Linked DNA regions of Homo sapiens: region 1 is linked to region 2. The links are contacts of gene promoters, found by promoter capture Hi-C in human tissues and cell types (Jung and others, 2019). All regions are on one chromosome and are shown on one strand. Each heading gives the region's core, a stretch centred on a gene start or on the middle of the fragment in contact. The rest is flanking DNA. Distances are from core to core; before and after follow the strand shown.

Region 1 (6,859 bases), core at 1,155-3,654, 53 kb before region 2:
GGAACACATGACCTACTAAGATACAAGCCATGCAGCTAAGGAAGTGCTGGCATTACCCAACCCCTAAACCCAGGTTGCATAGCTTGTGGCTCCAAAAGAGAGCTCTTTCTTCTGCTTGAGGAGAGGAGAAAGGAGAGTGGGGAGGACTTTGTCTTCATCTTGAATACCAGTTCAACCACAGCAGGAGAGGGCATTGGTCAGAGTTGTTAGTCCCCCAATTCCAGGTCCTAGCTTCCAGACATTTCTAGACACACCCTTGGCCAGAAGGGAACCCACTGCTTTGAAGGGAAGGATGCAGTCCTGGCAACATTTATCACCTGCTAACTGAGAAGCCCTTGGGCCCTGAATTATCAGCAGTGATAAGCAGGTACTACATCAAGGGCCTGGGGGGAGCCTCTGAGACTTGCTGACTTCAGGTGGGACTTACCACATTACGGATAAAGCTGTGGTGGCTATGGGGCAAAACTCCTGCTTGAGAAAAAAAAGTCCAGGACCAGAGAGATTCACAGCTGAATTCTATCAGGCTTTCAAAGAAAAATTGGTACCAATTCTATTGACAATATTCCACAAGATAGAGAAAGAGGGAATCCTCCTTAACTCATTCTATGAAGCCAGTATCACCTTAATATCAAAACCAGGAAAGGATATAACAAAAAAAGAAAACTACAGGCCAATATCCCTGAGGAATATAGATGCAAAAATCCTCAACAAAATACTAGCAAACTGAATCCAACAGCATATCAAAAAGGTAATTCACCATGATCAAGTGGGTTTTATACCAGGGATTCAGAGATTGTTTAACATATGCAAGTCAATAAATATAGTACACCACACAAACAGAATTAGAAGCAAAAGTCACATGATCATCTAATCAGTGTAGAAGAAGGATTTGACAAAATCCAGCATCCTTTTATAATTAAAACCCTCAGCAAAATCAGTATAGAAGGAACACACCTTAAGGTAATAAAAGCCATTTATGACAAACTCACAGCCCACATTATACTGAACAGGGAAAAGTTGCAAAGCATTCCCCCTGAGAACTAGAACACTACAAGGATGACCTCTTTCACCACTTCTATTCAACATAGTACAGGAAGTCCTAGCCACAGCAATCAGACAAGAGAAAGAAATAAATGGCATCCAGATCGGTAAAGAGGAAGTCAAACTGTGACTGTTTGCTGATGATATAATCGTATAACCTAGAAAACCCTAAACGGCCATCCAAAAAACTTCTAGAACTGGTAAACGAGTTTAGCAAAGTTTCAGGATACAAAATTAATGTACACAAATCAGTAGCTCTGCTATACACTAACAGCGACCAAACTGAGAAATCAGGAACTCAACCCCTTTCACAATAGATTCAAAAAAAATAAAATACTTAGGAACATACCTAGCCAAGGACATGAAAGACCTCTACAAGGAAAACTACAAAACACTGCTGAAATAAATCATAGATAACACAAACAAGTGCTTCCAGTGGGATGGAAAACACATCCCATCCTCATGGATGGGCAGAATCAATATTGTGAAAATGACCATAGTGCCAAAAACAATCTTCAAATTCAATGCAATTCCCATAAAAACACTAGCATCCTTCTTCACAAAACAAGAAAAAACAATCCTAAAATTCATATGGAAACAAAAAGGCTTGCATAGCCAAAGCAAGACTAAGTGAAAAGAACAAATCTGGAAGCATCACATTATCCAACTTCACACTATACTATAAGGCCATAGTCACCAAAACAGTATGGTCCTGGTATAAAAATAGGCACATAAGCCAATGGAACAGAATAAAGAACCCAGAAATAAAGCCAAAAACTTATCACCAACTGATCTTCAACAAAACAAACAAAAATATAAAGTGGGGAAAAGACACCCTATTCAATAAATGGTGCTGGTATACTTAGCAAGCCACAGGTAGAAGAAATGAAACTGGATCCTCTTCTCTCACCTTATACAAAAATCAACTCAAGATAGATCAAAGCCTTAAATTTAAGACCTAAAAACTATAAATATTCTAGAAGATAACATCAGAAAAAACCTTCTAGACATTGGCTCAGGCAAAGACTTCAAGACCAAGAGCCCAAAAGCAAAAACAACAAAAACAAAGGTAAATAGATAGGACTTAATTAAACTAAAAAGCTTCTGCAGAGCAAAAGAAATAATCAGCAGAGTAAACAGACAACCCGGAGTGGGAGAAAATCTTCACAAACTATATATCTGACAAAGGACCAATATCCAGAATCTATAAGGAACTCAAACAAATCAGCAAGAAAAAAAACAATCCCATCAAAAAGTGGGCTAAGGACATGAATAGACAATTCTCAAAAGAAGATATGCAAATGACTGACAAGCATATGGAAAGTGCTCAACATCACAATGATGAGAGAAATGCAGATCGAAACCACAATGCGATACCACCTCACTTCTGTAAGAATGGCCATAATCAAAAAAATCAAAAAAAATAGATGTTGGCATGGATGGTGTAAAAAGGGAACATGTTTACACTGTTGGTGGGAATGTAAACTAGTACAACTGCTATGAAAAATAGTGTGAAGATTCCTTAAAGAAGTAAAAGTAGATCTACTGCTTGATTCAGCAATCCCACTACTAGGTATCTACCCAGAGAAAAAGTCATAATACAAAAAAGATACTCGCACATTCATGTTTATAGCAGCATGATTTGCAATTGCAAAAATATGGAACCAACCCAAAATGCCCATCAATCAACGAGGAGATAAAGAAAATGTGGTATATACATGCCATGGAATACTACTCAGCCATAAAAAGGAATTAAATAATGGCATTCACAGCAACCAGAATGGAATCAAAGACTATTATTCTAAGTAAAGTAAATCATGAATGAAAAACCAAACATCATATGTTCTCATTCATATGTGGGAGCTAAGCTATGAGGATGCAAAGGCATAAGAATGATACATTGGACTTTGAGGACTCGGGGGAAGGGTGGGGGGTGGTGAGGAATAAAACACTACACATTGGGTACAGTGTACACTGCTCGGGTGATGGATGCACCAAAGTCTCAGAAATCATCACTGAAGAATTTATTCATGTAACCAAACACCACCTGTTCTCCCAAAACCTATTGAAATTAAAAAATTAAAAATTAAAAAAATTTTAAATCAGTAGCATTTCTATATGTCAGCAATAAACAATGTGAAAAATAAATTAAAAAGTAATCCCATTTACAATAGCCATACACAAAATTAAATATGTAGGAATTAACCAAAGAAGTGAAAGATCTCTATAATGAAAATTATAAAACACTAGAGAAAGAAATTAAAGAGGACACCCCCCAAAAATGGAAAAATATTCCATTTTCATGGATTGGAAGAATCAATGCTGTTAACATATCAATAGTACCTAAAGCAATCTACAGATTCATTGCAATCCGTACCAAATTCCAATTACATTCTTCACAGAAATAGGAAAAACAATCCTAACATTTATATAGAACCACAAAAGACCCAGAATAGCCAAAGCTATCCTAAGCAAAAAAGAACAAAAGTGGAGGAATCACATTACCTAACTTCAAATTATACTACAGAGCTATAGTAACCAAAACAGCATGGTAGTGACATAAAAACAGACACAAAAATCAATGGAACAGAATAGAGCACCCAGAAACAAATCCACACACCTATAGTGAACTCATTTTCAACAATTGTGCCAATAATGTACACTGGGGAAAAGACAGTCTCTTTCATAAATAGTGCTGGGAAACTGGATATCCATATGCAGAAGAATTAAACTAGATCCCTATCTCTTGCCATATACAAAAAATCAAATCAAAATGGATTAAAAATTTAAATCTAAAACATCAAACTATGAAACTAAAAGAAAACATTGGGGAAAATCTCCAGGGCATTGGTCTGGGCAGAAATTTCTTGAGCAATGCCCTATAAGCATAGGCAACCAAAGCAAAATTGTACAAATGTGATCACATCAAGTTACAAAGCTTCTGCACAGCAAAGGATCCAATCAACAAAGGAAAGAGACAACCCGAAGACTGAGAGAAAGTATTTACAAACTACCCATCTGATGAGGGGTTAATCACCAGAATGTATAAAGAACTCAAACAACTTTATAGGCAAAAAAATCTAATAATCTGATAAAAGAAAAAGTGGGTAAAAGGTTTGAATAAACATTTCTCAAAAGATGACATACAAATGGCAGACAGGCATATGGAAATAGATCAGAGAAATGTAAATAAAAAATACAATGAGATATCATCTCGCCCGAGTTAAAATAGCTTGTACTTGCCAAAGACAAGCAATAACAAATGCTGGTGAGAATGTGGAGAAAAGAGAACCCTCATACCCTGTTGGTGAGAATATAAGTTAGTACAACCACTATGGGGGACAGTTTGGAAGTTCCCTAAAGAACTAAAAATAGAGCTACCATGTGATCCAGCAATCCCACTGCTCAGTATATACTCAAAAGAAATCAGTATGTTGAAGAGATATACACTCCCATGTTTGTTGCAGCATTGTTCACAATAGTTAAGATTTGGAAGCAACTTAAGTGTCCACTTTATCCAGATGGATGGATAAAGGCAATGTGGTACATATACACAATGGAGTACTATTCAGCCATAAAAAAAGAATAAGATCCTACCATGTGCAACAACATGGATGGAACTGGAGGTCATTAAGTGAAATGAGCCAGGCAGAGAAAGACAAACATTGCATGTTCTCACTTATTTGTAGGATCTAAAAATCAAAACAATTGAACCGATGGACATAGAGAGTAGAAGAATGGCTATCAAAGACCAGAAAATGTAGTGGTAGGTTGAGAGAGGGAGGAGGGGTGGTTGGTTAATGCATACCAAAAAAATAGAAAAAAAATGAATAAGATCTACAATTTGATAGCACAACACAGTGACTGTAGTCAATAATAACTTAATTGTGGATTTAAAAATAACCAAAGGAGACTAATTAGATTGTGACACAAAGGATAAATGCTTGAGGGGATGGATACCCCCATTCTCCATGTGATTATTATGCAATGCATGACTGTATCAAAACATCTCATGTACCACATAAATATATACACCTACTATGTACCCACAAGAATTAAACATTTAAAATTTTTTTAAAAACCACAATAGTGTCAGCTACCAGAGAAACAAATAGGTTCATTTTATTAATAAAATACATTGAGACAGTCAGCTTTATATATAAACATTCATATATTATATGACATATCTACTCATATAAAAGAACAGAACACTGTCCATCAGTCAGACAGGTCTAAGGGCTGGACCTCAGCATATTTTCTAACATCTTTAGTCTCATCGGAAACACCTGGCAACCAAGCAAATGTTAGAGAACCTTAATCTCTGTAGCCAGCTAGACTTACCTTTCAAGGGCGCATCTTACTGGGATGTAAGTTCTGAAATTCAAAAACGCTGGTTGATATTTGACGAAACTCTCAACAAGAATGCCCCATGGGCATTCCTCAAGAGAATAAAAAAAGTATGAACTTGTTTTACTTAAATCTAACAGTTCAAAAATAAGAGTTAAAGTTTTTAAAATAATAGAAATTTTTATTTTATATTAAGTCAAAGGACAACAGAGCTAAGTAATAAAATGTTTATGTTTAGAAAACACCCAAGTAATAGCTCCTGACATTATGTCCAGACATTTTGTTGTCTGTCAATGTGTAGACAACTCCTGATCACATTTGTTTAAGTGTAGGGGCCTGATTTTGGCAGACCTGTATTATAGGACAGGCTCTGCAACTTACTCTGAGTATGAATTTTCACTAAATGTTTCATTATTTCAGAGCAGGTTCTACCTTCCCCACTCATAAAATGGAGATAATATAGCTCAGGGGTTGTCAAACTGGCCAGAGAATATTTCAGTCTTTGCAGACTGTACTAGCTCTCTTGAAAATACAGACATACCTCATTTTATTGCATTTCACTCTATCATGCTTCACAGATAACACATTTTCTACAAACTAAAGACATGTAGCAATCCTGCATTGAGAAAGTTGAGTACCATTTTTCCAACAGCATGTGCTCACTTCATGCCTCCGTGTCATATTTTGATCATTTCACAGTATTTCTAGTTTTTCATTATTGTATCTGTTGTGGTTTGTGATCAGTGATCTTTAATGTTACTATTGTAGTTGTTTTGGAGCACCAGGAACCATGTTCATAAAGACAGCACACTTAATAAATGTTGTATATATTCCTACTGTTCCACTGACCAGCCATTCTTGTCTCTCTTCCTCTTCTCAGGCCTCTCTATTCTCTGAGACAAAAATGTTAAGATGTTAATAATCCTACAATGGCCTCTAAACGTTCACAGGAAAGGAAGAGTTACATATCTCTTACTTTGAATCAAAAGCCAAAAATGGTTAAGCTTAGTGAGGAAGGCATGTCAAAAGCCAAGAAAAGACAAAAGCTAGGCCTCTTGTGCCCGACGGTCAAGTTTTGGATGAAAGGAAAAGTTATTGAAGGAAATTAAAAGTGCTACTCCAGTGAACACCCAAATGACAAGAAAGCAAAACAGCCTTATTTCTGATATAGAGAAAGTTTTAGTGGTCTGGATCAAACCAGCCATAACATCCCTCATGCCAGAGCCTAATTCAGAGCAAGGCTCTAACTCTTCTCAACTCTATAAAGACCGAGAGGTGAGAAAGCTGCAGAAGTGAAGCTTGAAGCTAGCAGAGGTTGGTTCATGAGCTTTAAGGAAGAAGTCATCTCCATAAAAGCACAAGGTGAAGTTGCAAGTGCTAATTGAGAAGCTGCAGCAAGTTATCCAGAAAATGTAGCTAAGATTACTGATGAAGGTGGCTACACTAAATAGATTTTCAACGCAGATGAAAA
Region 2 (6,897 bases), core at 183-2,682:
CAGCCTGAGTGACAAAGAAAGAAAGAAAACAAAAGAAAGAGAAAGAAGAGAAAGAGAAGAGAAAGAGAAAAAGAAAAGAAAGAGAAAGATGAGAAAGAGAAGGGGAAAGAAGAGAAAAAGAAAAAAGAGAAAAAGAAGAGAAAGAGAAAGAGGAAGGGAAGAGCAAGGGACGAGGAAGAGGGAACAGGAAGAGAAGAGGAAGAGAAAGAAGAGGAAGAGAAAGGGAAGAGTAATAGAAAGGGAAGAGGAAGAGAAAGGGAAGAAAAAAAAGAAAAAGAGAGAAGGAGAGAAAGAAAAGAAAACAGAAAAAAGCATTCAGCACAGTGGCTCATACCTGTTATACCAGCACTTTGGGAGACCGAGGTGGGCAGATCACTTGAGGCCAGGAGTTTGAGACCAGCCTGGCCAATATGGTAAAACCCCGTCTCTACTAAAAATACAAAAATTAGCTGGATGTGGTGGTGCACATCTGCAGTGCCAGCTACTTGGGAGGCTGAGGCACAAGAATCACATGAACCCGGGAGGCAGAGGCTGTAGTGAGCCCAGATCATACCACTGCACTCCAGCCTCGGTGACAGCGAGACTCTTGTCCCAAAAAAAAAAGAAAGGAAGAAAAGAAGGAAAGGAGGAAGGAAGGGAAAGAAAAGAAAGAGGGAGGGAGGAGGGAACGAGGGAGAAAGAGAAAGAAAGGAAGAAAGAAGGGAGGAGAGAAAGAAAGGAAAAGAGAAAGAGAAGCAGAAATAGAGGAAGAGAAACTGACAGCCCAAGTTTATACTCAGGGCTACCAATCATTCTGGTTTGCTCCGAACAGGAGGTTTTTGGGGCCGACGCAGGAAAAGTACTGGGAAAACCTGGACCACTGCTCACCTCACTTAGGGGGCACTGACTGCTCCCTCTGAAATGAAAAGGATCTATGAAGTATAAGGTAAAGAAAGGCTAAGCCTTATAAGGCTTTCTTCCTGTATGTGACACACCACAGAGTCCCAAGTTCCTACCACCACCCACTCCTCTGTTTTCCAGGCCACTCCACACTCTTTATATTAAACCCACTTCAAGTACTTGATCCCCAAGAATTGATATGGTCAGAATAAGATCAAAAGGAAAGGGGAGTTGGAGAAAGACAGTCTCAGGTTAGGGCACATTCCCTAGTCTCAGTGCCGGTATGCAAGAGAAAAACATGGTATCTCAAGATTGCACATCGAAAAGAGGCACCACCCCTCCATGTGTCCTTGGCTATTATTAAGATTCAACCAGACCACAACTGTAAAGAATCCAAAGCCACATCTTTCAGCTCTCTTTAAGAAACTTCTATTCCCCAAGTGATAAGTTATACCTGACCAGTCCCCAGCGCAGGTCCATATCAAGGAATGCAGATAAAAGAGCCCTTTGAACCCCAGAATGGTCTTCATTTGCCCAGATTGAAAACCAAACCTCACTCAGGAAACAGGAAGTTGGGGAGAATAGCCTTATATGCCAAAATGCCTGAAGCCACACATAGGTGTGGGTAATTAATTACAACTTTGGACAGCACACACGTGCCATAAATATAATTTTGTTTCATTTTCTAAGATGTTACACTTTTTACTCAAATGTCAAAAAACAAGAGCAAAGATAAAGCAAAATGTGCAATAGAAGTACAACAGAAGGCTTCACTTGTTTTAGAGTCCAAAGCATCAGATATAGTTATTTTTATGCACTAAGGTTTACTTTATTAAAACTTCCTAATATCCTATAACATCTGTCTCCACATCTGAACACGAAAGAAATAACTGGATGATAATTTACTTGTTCTGTGCATCTCAGAAGGCCAAGCCCTGAGAACATGGGAATTGAAAGATTTCATCTACTTTCACCTGTTTTCACCAACTAAACAGTGGTACTCAAACTTAATAGATATCAGAATCACCGGGAGAGCTTATTGAAGCACAGCTGAGTGTCATTTAGTTTTCTGATTCACTAAGACTGGGCTGGGACCTGAGAATTGATGTTTCTCACAAGTTCCCAGGCGATGCTCATACTGACCACCCAGGGACCACACTTTGAGAATCCCTGGTCTACAGGGTTTTGCCTTCAGAGTGCATGCTGTGTTGATGCCCATTAGCAGCGATGTTTGCTTCTCAAACTTTAAGGAGCATATACATCACTTGAGGCTCTCTTTACAATGCAGATTCTAATTCGGAATGTCTGGGGTGAAGGCTAAGATTCTGCATTTTAAGATTGCAGGGATGTTGCTCTGGAGACTACGTTGTGAGTAGCAATGCCTGTAAATGGTTACTCACATTTAGATTCCTTTCTTCAAAACAGAAGATGCCAACTTAAAAATGAGAAATTCAAAATCTCATTACCAAAACAAGCCTAAATGAATGTTTGGTTCAAATATATTCTGATTTTTTTCGCTAATAACCAGTTATTAGAGTTTAGCAACTGTGTCCTACGTTAATAGAACGTGGAAAGTAGGAGCTTACCAAAAACAAATAGAAAAGACTATATAAATGCATTTAACTATCCTTGATATTATCTGAATTTTATCATTAAATTTAGTCTGTTCTAAAAGTTCTAAAATGCCATTAAATGATGAGCTCTTCAAAGGTTGAGATCATTCCTCTGTATTTTTGTGTGTCCTAACTTTCACAAAATGGGTGCCCAATAAAAGATGGCAGGAGAAAGAAAAAAAATAGAATTAGTTAGCATTTGTTCCTTTTAAAAATTTTTGTTTGTTTTTGTTTTGTTTTTGTTTTTTTGAGATGGAGTTTAGCTCTTGTCACCCAGGCTAGAATGCAATGGCACGATCTCCGCTCCCCGCACTCTCTGCCTCCTGGGTTCTAGCGATTCTCCTGCTTAGACTCCCAAGCAGCTAGGATTACAGGCGCCCGCCACTATGGCCAGCTAATTTCTGTGTTTTTAGTAGAGATGTGGTTTCGCCAAGTTGGCCAGGCTGGTCTCGAACTCCTGACCTCAAGTGGTCTGCCTGCCTCGCCCTCCCAAAATGCTGGGATTACTGGTGTGAGCCACTGAGCATGGCCTCTTTTTAAGTTTTTGAAATGTTTACATTTCACTTGTGTTAAAGACACAAATATATTTTAATTTTAATAATTATGCTTTTTTAATTTAATGTGTATTGAGATTAAAGGTATATTAAAACATTTCAGATACATTGCTATCTAGATGGACAGTGCTAAGGTTCAGTCCAAATGAATGTCAAAACCTTGTCCACAGGTACCTAAGGATGCACAAGGCAATGTCTCTGACTTTCAGCCACCCAGTCTTAGCCTCGTGTATCTGACAATCTGCGAAACTACTATTGTTATCAAATCGTCAATAAACTAGTAAAGAATAGGTGGCTTGAATCTTAAAAATTACCTGGTTAAATCACTGGAAGAGCAATACTTTCAAGGTGAGGATGGAAGCATTGAAGAGGTGACAGGGTCTCTTCATAGAGACAGGGTTTTGCCATGTTGGCCAGAATGGTCTCAAACTCCTGACCTCAGGTGATCTGCCTGCCTCAGCCTCCCAAAGTGCTAAGATTATAGGCTTGAGCCACCAAGCCCAGACTGCCATGTGTATATCCTTTTAAGGAAGTATCTATTCAAATATTTTATTCATTTTTATTGAGTTATTTCTCATCTTATTGAGTTGTACCTCATGACTTTTGTTTTGTATGGAAATGTCTTTTCAGAAGAGTCTTGGCTAGCTATCTTGAGTAAAGACTCTCATTCAGAATCTGATTATTTCCTCACAATTAGACTCGAACCTTTTTGGCAAGAATAAATGAAGTTAAAAATGTTATAATCTTAAGAACATTTCTATAGCTTTTCCGTTGTTTTAGAGCTCTTTATATATTAGGGAGATTATCCTTTTATCCGCGATATAAGATGCAAATATTTTCCTCCTAGGCAGTCATTTGTCTTTTGATTTTGCTTGTGGTATTTTTGCCTCAAAGTTTGTTTAATTTTTGCTTCAGATTCTATTTGGTCACATTTTACTTATTCCTTCTGGAATCTGAGTCATAATTACAACAGACTCGCTTACACCTATTTAATATAATAATTAATAGAAGCAGGCTAAATACACATTGAGCATTTTACTTCGACTGGAGTATGACCAGTACAGGGCTGGTAATTCACTATTAACTGTGTCATTTGTTTGTCTCTATCCAGTGGGATCCCCAGACACCTAACTAATTCAAATTAACTCTCAGCTAAATGGCTAGCAACACTAAAATATGGCAGTTATGTCCCCATTTACACATGTATTCAGACAGAAAAAAATAAGAAAGAATCCTCTCACTAGCTAAGGTGTCCAATGGTCTGGCCTACAGAAGTGTCTCCCTGACTAAGAGAAACAGGATACTTCAGTCTCACTCTCAATAAATCTCTGGACCGGGGCTCAACCAGCCTTCCCTTTCAGAGGCTGAAGATACTGAGTAATTCTCCTATACGCATCTGCATTCTCTTTTCTTGCCTTGGGTTTAGAGAATTACACTTCTATCTTGCCAAATTTTCTTTTTTTTACAAAAAGAATTATTTCCCTTAGAAAATTTTTAGGATATGTGACTAGTTATAGCAGAGGGTCCCAAACATTCACCTAGTTCTCTTAATGATACAGTAACTTTTGTTGTTTGTTTGCTTTTTATGGCATCCTTTCATGAAAAGAAATACATAACAGCTTCATTTATTATGTTGTTACATCAAAATAACTTCAGTATTTTTGTGCTGACAACTTAGTAGCCATTTGAAAACACATACATTGGAAGAAAATATTTTTATTTTATTCTTTAACCACAATTATGAATAATATGTGTATAACTGTTTGACGCTGCACAGCATCTCAGCTCTTGAAATCAGATTGGGCATCACCATCTTCATTCCTTATTCCACATGGATTTTTCCCACAGTAACTGCTTTGGCTATTCATCACAGCAACCACTAGATCCCAAGTTGCACAAAGTTGTGGACTAATAGAAAAGAATGTAGTGCCACCAAAGTGGAACTGTGGACTACCTTGAGCTGGTAATTTGCATCATGTCTGACAGTTGTCAAGTATCACTCACTGTCTCCCCGAAATTTTTAAAATATCCCCTGGTATCCCTGTGTGTTCACTGCAGTGCCTCTGGGGGATCTTCAGCACAGAGAATACAAACTGTGCTGATAAGATTAGTGTTTTTATAGAGAAATGTGACCTATTAATGACCTCTTTAATGGAACAGTAAATTCTCACAAACAGGTATTTTAGAATATTAATGAAAATAACTAAATGTGGTACACTTTGTTTTCTATTCTCTTCTCACAATTTATCAATTCGATTATTCAAAGATATCTATTAAGCAAATGATATGTCAGGGGCATGTCTCAAATAAATGAAAATTTATTTTCACACAAAAGCCTGTACACCAATATTCCTAGCAGTTGTATTCATAGTCGCAAAATACTGGAAACAATCTAGATGCCCTTTTTTTAAATGAATGGCTAAACGAACCATAGTAATCTATACCATGGGATACTATTTAGCAAGAAAAAGAACAAATTATTGCTTCATTGGAACATTCTGCATGAATCTCCATGGAATTATGCTGAGTGAAAACAGCCAATCCCAAAAGGTAATATGCTATACTATTCCATTTATATAACATCCTTGAAATGAAAAAGTGGAAACAGAGAGTAAATTAGTGGTTACCAGGGTTTACGAGGGGATGGGGACAGGAGGGAAGTAGATGTAGCTCTTAAAAGGTCATATTATGGATCACTGTGGTGATGGAAATGTTCTGTGTCTTGACTGTATCAATGTCAATATCTTGGTTGTGATATTGTGTTTTAGTTTTGCAAGATGTTACCATTGGGGAAAATTGGGTGAAAAGTACATAGGATCTCTCTGTGTTGTTTCTTACAACTGTGTATGAATTTACAGTTACCTCTAAATGATTTTTAATGTAACAAAAAAGACCTAAAAACCAACCAATGACTATTTTAGTAAATTAACTGGAGAAGACCATTTTCAATGACATAAAAATCAAACCCATAAGGAAAAAACAACTCAGGGATGGGTCTGCCTTTATGAAAGGGATCTGTGCTACAAAAAAACTTGCTGAGCAAAAACAATAGGCAAAAAAATATTAAATTTAAATAAATAGTTATCATTTGCATCCTTCTGAGGAAAAATGTTTAAGAGGTTTGTTAACATTCAGTCATGACAGTTTTCTTAGAAAAGAAATAATGTCATTTACTTCCTATGATGAAGTAAATTGATAAATTTTCAGGGACAATTTAGCAATAAATACTGTTTTTAGTATGTTTATTCTTTATCACAATTCCTAATGTATTATTTTGTCCCATAGAAATACTGATATGAGATTGCAACAGTTTATCTTAAAAGATATCAATTACTGTATTCTTTGCAATATTAGCAAAATAGAATCAACTCAACAATCCATAATTTGGTATGAGTTAAATCAATTGTGGTATATGGATACAATGCACTGATATTCAGCAATTAAAAATAACAAAATAAATCTATATACCTACAGTATATATATAACATATATAACATATATGCCTATCACACATACCTATGGTATACATATATATACAGTACACATACACAGATATATACAAAGTTTTCTAAAGTATGTATACATATTTCTTAGCAAGAGCTATGTTGTTAATTTTATATATATTATGTATTACATATAATGTATTATATATAATATAGTGAATATTAATATATTAAATGTTAACATACAAGATATAATTAATATATAAATTAGTCTATATAACTTGTATATAAATTTTATATTAATTTTATATATATGCATACATACACTATGAAAACCTTTAGAAAAATTGAGCACAATGGCTATCACCAAGGAATGTATTAGATGAGACTTTAATTTTTTATGTTTAA

The links. The method cuts DNA at HindIII sites, captures the fragments that hold promoters and counts their contacts. A contact is called where the count stands out against the background at its distance.
Region 1: a contact is called between a fragment that was not itself captured here and the fragment with the promoter of OOSP1 in region 2, in 1 of the 25 tissues and cell types used here (hippocampus).

Annotation. Positions count from the first base shown.
Region 1 is chr11:59,986,929-59,993,787 of GRCh38, reverse strand. No RefSeq gene overlaps it. Among named protein-coding and RNA genes, the nearest start is that of OOSP4A, 26 kb to the right of the region's middle. The HindIII fragment of the contact is 5,564 bases long and covers 1-5,186 here.
Region 2 is chr11:59,932,967-59,939,863 of GRCh38, reverse strand. It overlaps OOSP1 (oocyte secreted protein 1), which reads right to left and starts at 1,432. Exons shown (of 5, transcript NM_001395276.1): 1 at 1,334-1,432. The coding sequence starts at 1,409. The HindIII fragment of the contact is 12,909 bases long and covers 1-6,897 here.